Regions from separate parts of the Homo sapiens genome. Here region 1 is linked to region 2. Evidence: promoter capture Hi-C in 16 types of primary human blood cells and fetal thymus (Javierre and others, 2016). All regions are on one chromosome and are shown on one strand. Each heading gives the region's core, a stretch centred on a gene start or on the middle of the fragment in contact. The rest is flanking DNA. Distances are from core to core; before and after follow the strand shown. Region 1 overlaps NOTCH2 (notch receptor 2). Region 2 holds the start of ADAM30 (ADAM metallopeptidase domain 30).

Region 1 (2,811 bases), core at 142-2,641, 41 kb after region 2:
AGGATGTTTCAGATTTGACTTGTGTGCAAACCTTTTGTTCCTCCTGGGTACAGGTTTCCTCATCTTTAAAATACACATTCCTCCGTATGTGATGAGGACCCTATGACTCGGTCAAAAGGCATATGTGGATGGTAGTACAGACATGCAATTATTGATCTCCAGGTTTAGGAAATTGGATCTATGTGTGAGAAACTGGTTGAGATAGGCTTAGGGGTAGAGGGAGGTGGGGCTGGCTGGCTGGCTGTGGTGGCTGTAGGGGTTGGAAGGATTTCAGGGCTGACCAAGAAAAAAGATATGGCTGTGAGGTGGCTTTATTTGGACACTTTGACAGGTTTGCACCTGGGAGAAGTCCCAAATAGCATGAGACCTTCCAGAGGGGTAGGTGAGTAAGGGGAAGACAGCAAGTAAACTCTGGGAAAGAAGGATCAGAGAAGGAGTCTAGGTGATGTCACTCAACAGCCAGTGGCAGGAATCTCTGGGTCAGAGAGCTCTAAAGGCCAGCATCAGCCTGGGGTCTGTATGGCCCCAGGGTATATCTTGTCCTACTTATACTATGGCTAGCAGATTTTGGCTGCAGTTTTACAGGCTATGCAAAGCAGGCAAGCTCTAAATAGCTAAAAATCTGCTTATTTGGGGGCTATGTTTAAAACAACTAGATGTGTCAAAATTTGGGTTTGGCACTGGTAGGCTTTTGAGCTAATGAGACCCAGCCCCAGCCTGCTGTGAAGAAATAAACAACCTAGGGGCCAAAATACAGAAGCTATCGTTGGCTCATTTATATAACAATAGAGAAGCAAAGCTTTTCTCAGTGTTGCTTGATGGTTTGAATTGGTATCAAATTAATGTCTCAGGCATTTTGCTAATATCTTGCTTGCTCTAACCATTATCAGCCCAGACATTAAAATAGTGACATGTACCTTGAAGACACATACTTCCTCAAATATATACATGTAACGTTTAGCATGATGCTATGGGGAACAGGATGAGCAACATTTTTTTTTTTTGAGAGAAAATTGCTAGTTGACTGATTAATGACTAAATACAAAGGTGACAGGGGCCAAAGGGACACTCCACAAAGCAGTTTTTCCTATCTCAGCTGCTATTCAGGGAAGTGTGGACTGCTATGTTGGGTGGGCCTGTAAAATGCACTCTGGTAGTGACTCTTGGCTCTGAATCCTAAAAGCAAGCCTAAGGAGCTGGGATGGTTCCAGACGCCTATAAAAATATCATACTAGGGACCTGTTAACTTATTGCACAGAGAGGCTGAAAGAAACAGTGGTAAACATTATGACGGGGATTGGTAAAAATCTATAAACTATCAATATAAGATACAAGCAGCTAAATTCAATATATCAGTGCTCAAACAGTTGTACAATCTCCTGGGAGGTCCATGACCTCTGCTTGCTCAGTGTCCTCACCTCGCATCTGTATCCACCAATGAAGTCACTGCATGTTGCCCCGTGCTGGCAGGGGTTGGACGCACACTCATCGAGTTGCTCCTCACAGTAGCTCCCAGTATAGCCCAGGGGGCACTGACAGTAATGCGTGTTGCCAGCATTGATGCAGACACCTGAGTGCTGGCACAAGTGTTCAACAAGCACACCTGGGAAACCCAGTGAGGGAGAAATGTCATAGAAGAACATGTGACACATGGGGTTCAAATCAACCAATGAGCAAGTAAATCTAAACTGGCTGACACATCCAATCTTATTCTTAGCCAGTTCTTCACAACCCTCAGTACCAGATGCATATTAAAAATAAACCCTGAAAGTGGAATATACCTTAGTTTCATTTCAAATACATTCTTCTCCGAATCTCTGAACCTATTCCTCTACCCTTACACCTTCTGTCTTGAGCCCTTTCCCCAGAGCCCTGCCCACCCACTACTATCTGCCCTTCCCTCTTATTCCACAAAAAAATGATACCTTCTCTAAATGCCACTGGACAGTCAATACTGCAGTGAATGACCTGAGCCCAAGGGAGCAAAGCTTACCTCTCCTGGAGGCTGCTATGTCACAAGAGACATTGGGCACGTCACAATAGGCACCAGCCCATCCAGATGGACATAGGCACTGGGACTCTGCTTTTTTCTGAACGCAAGTACCTTTGTTTTTACATGGAGACCGACTGCAGAGATTCACCAGGGTCTGAAACAGAGGCAGGGGTGTACATACATCAAAATTCAAATACTAGAAATGAAGAAAAGAAGTTATATTGTGTTACAAGAAATCAAAGAAAAGCAAACTGATTAAAAAGAAAAAGAGCCTTCATCTAGTAAAAGAGCCCTTAAACTAGATTCAGTGTTCCGAGGTACACCTAACCATTTTTACGTACCGTTAAGTCTTCACTTAATGTCATCATTAGGTTCTTGGAAACTGTGACTTTAAGGACAACGATATATAACGAAACCAATTTTACCACAGTCTAATTGATATAAAAAAGAGTTAAGTTCCTCTACTTATTTCTGGTTAAAAAAAAAATCACTAAACTTCAAATTAACACCCACTTCTGATATTAAACATTAAAATAAACAAGCTATACATTCATTTAAGAAATATTAATAAAAACAAGATAATTATTTATCCAATTTTTGGTGAATCCATGAGTAATAGCAGTCCTAGTGGTGGCAGGTCAAGTCAAGGAATAAATGTTTGCAAAGCAAAACCGTCAGCACCTCTTACCACCACACAGCTCAGAAAGCAACACTAACCAATATGGCAGGCTTGCTGGGTGGTTTTGTACCACATTGTTTATTGTTGTGCACTCATATGATTATCATAGGCTTTATGGGTTTTCATTTTATAATAATTG
Region 2 (2,893 bases), core at 340-2,839:
CGCAGTACTCTGCAAGGTCACATTCATTTCCTTCCTGCCTACACACGTATCCAGATGGACGAAACCGACAATCATGACAGCAAAGTCCAATGCTACAGTTGGCACCTGGTTGCAACTTACAATTTGATTGGCAACACCGATCTTTCTGACACTCCTCTGTGGAACCACAGTCACATTCCTCATTGTCCTCCACAATTTTGTTTCCACATCTCTTAAGCACATAACCTAGTCCTGGGATATTATTTAGACATGTTGCTCCCGAAGAGATATGTTTAAAAAAAGAGATATAACTGCAATTGCTAAACCCAGTGCGTCCTGAGCCCATGATGCAATTAAGCCTACCCCTACATTGGCAGTATTGTTCATCATGTGACATTCCTACAGCATGACCCAGCTCATGAGCAGACCAGGTAGCAGGGGCAAGGATATTTGTATCTAGTAAAGTACTCACTGATCCAGCATATTCTAGAGAACACACTTTTCCAAACGACCATGCAAGAGCATCATTATATTTTCTTTGAAGATATAAATGTGCCCAATCTGATGACAGGCGAGCATTTAATACACTTTTTTTATATATTACAAATCTGCCTAAAACTTCAGCTAACTCTGGATATCCAACGCGTATTTTGTTAAAATCTGTCCATACTTCAAGAGCCTTTAAGTGTATCCTCATACGAACATCTTGAAAGTAGGTGTCCATAATCCCAGTCAAAAGAATGGCATCATGTATGACTTGAGAAAGATTGTTGTTCACAAACCTATACCTACTTTGATCAAAGAGTAGGATCAATTCCAAGTACTTTGGGTGTTTATAGGATCCAGGAAAGTCCCTTAGCCTCGCCTTATTCTCATAAGGGGCCATCTGCCATTCTATTTCATCATCACTTAAGCCACAAACCTGATTCCCAAACTGCTCTTTCTTCAGGAGATAGACGACATGTTCAAAACTGGGAGAGGCCTTGAGGGGCTCAATTTGGTAATGTTTGGCATCAATGTTAAATACACCTCGGAGACCCCCCATGCATGTGCTTATAGTAGCTTTAGAGTCCAGAGACTCTTTCACGGAGCCCATGTAGTTGCAGTCCTTTGGTATGTAAGGATGATCCTCCAGCAGTTCCCCATGTTCTGTGAAGGAGAAAACGCGCAGATGTCGGGGCAACAGAAGTCTCTTGGGCCACAAATGGAGGACGTGCTTCTTGCCTTTTAACTGCAGTAGGTAGGACACGGGACTGACCACACCCTGCACCTCTCCCCGGAAGCTCAGCTTCTCAGGAATGGTGACTTCATACGAGTCAAACTCCCCTTCAGGGTGAAAAATTACATCTTCGCCAAGAGACTTAAGGAGCATTGTCGGAACTAGTAGAAGGAGCAAACGGCATTGGGAGAGGAAGATCTGCACTGACCTCATGGTCTGTTCCCTACTCAGCCTCAGTTTGCTATTCAGTCCCTGCAACTCTGGCCTCGCGAGTCAGATTTCTGGGGGCCGCCGCTAGAGGCGCCTGAGCTCAAAACCCGGCTCCCCTGGCAGGGTTTCCGGGGGAGCCCGTAGCCTCCCAGGGCTCGGTCTAGCTGGCGTCCGCAATGCGCGCGTGACCTGTCCAACGCATCCAGTTCGTTTTCCGGGCCGTACCGTTGGGCGCAGGTGGAAGAAAGGAGGGAAACGTGGGCGAGAATAAAAGAGAAAAGAGGGGCTGTTGGCACGTGGGTTGGAGAGAGGGTAGAGAACACCATCGGAAATGGAGAAGGAATAGAGAAATAGGAAGAACAAAGGAGAACGTGTTAAAGGCTCACTGTATCTTTGCCTTTACTCTGTGTCTTTACACCTTAGGACACAGGTTGGAATCCGATGTTTTATGGGCCACTGTCCTAACTTCATTGTTGGACATTTCCCAGTTTTCCACTAGGGTTGCTTGTGGCAAAAGAAAGGAGCATCAGAACCAGCAAGAGTGGAAACAGCCTGAAAGTATCAGCGTAGACTCCACACCCCCAGCCCCACTCTGGGCAGTTCCTCTGTCTTCGGCTGCGGCTTCTTTTTAGAGAAGGCCCTGAACCTTAGTTGTGGGCCCAGGCAACAGAAAGGTCCTGAGCTCATTTTGCCTGGGAGTGCTTTCTGCTGTTTGTCTTTGGGGTGCCAGGGGTCAGTGTAATTTTTGTGTGTCCATGTGCAATGGTGGGAAGAACCTAGAAAAAGTGCCTGTTATAAGAGCAAACCCAAGTGCTTTCTGAGAAAGGTAGATAGCTGGTTATGTTCCTAGTCGAGCGATGAGGCTGACTCCACAAAGGAAGAAGCCTCTGGCTCAGAAAATGGAAGGGTTTATCGTCCGTAAAAGGGCAAATCGGAAGGTCATGAGGTGATTCTGAGGGATTCTGATAAGAGAGGAATATTTTCAGTTTTGTTCCTGGGAGATTCCATCTGGCTGAATTACAAGGAAAGGTTAAAAAGGAACAGGCTTGAGTCAGGGAGACTAGTTAAAAGCTCTTGTACCAAGCAATGTTGTCTGTTGGCAGAAAGCATGGCCTTAGGGCTGATAATAAGCAGTACTTATGGAAGACTGGCTCGTTTCATGCTACACACCCCGCTATGCTCTGCATAAATCAGCCCATTAAATCTTCACCATGACCCTAGGTTATAGGTACTACTATTATCACCCATACTTTGCACATGAGGACATGAAAACCGTACCATGGTTCAGAAGGTGGCGTCAGCTGAAGCAATCCCTGTGAACATTTAGGCAACTCTACCCGGAGCCTGTGTTCTTTACTAGTCAACTCTGTTGTCTCTTTAGGGAAGGACAAAAGTTGACAGCTCCAAGAGATTTAAAACCACTTAGACTCTGCTGGACTTAATGCTTGCATGGATTCTCCCAGAATGAAAGAGGCAAAAATGAAA

The links. Contacts are between HindIII fragments. The CHiCAGO score rates a contact against its expected background, and 5 or more counts as called.
Region 1: a contact is called between a fragment that was not itself captured here and the fragment with the promoter of ADAM30 in region 2, in 12 of 17 cell types (erythroblasts, M0 macrophages, M1 macrophages and 9 more). The highest score is 14.4, in erythroblasts.

The regions. Positions count from the first base shown.
Region 1 is chr1:119,935,864-119,938,674 of GRCh38, forward strand. It overlaps NOTCH2 (notch receptor 2), which reads right to left. Exons shown (of 34, transcript NM_024408.4): 20 at 1,994-2,147; 21 at 1,419-1,603. Among named protein-coding and RNA genes, the nearest start is that of ADAM30, 41 kb to the left of the region's middle. RefSeq lists an enhancer at 377-1,102. The HindIII fragment of the contact is 1,189 bases long and covers 798-1,986 here.
Region 2 is chr1:119,894,926-119,897,818 of GRCh38, forward strand. ADAM30 (ADAM metallopeptidase domain 30) reads right to left here and starts at 1,590. Exons shown (of 1, transcript NM_021794.4): 1 at 1-1,590. The coding sequence starts at 1,411. The HindIII fragment of the contact is 9,342 bases long and covers 1-2,893 here.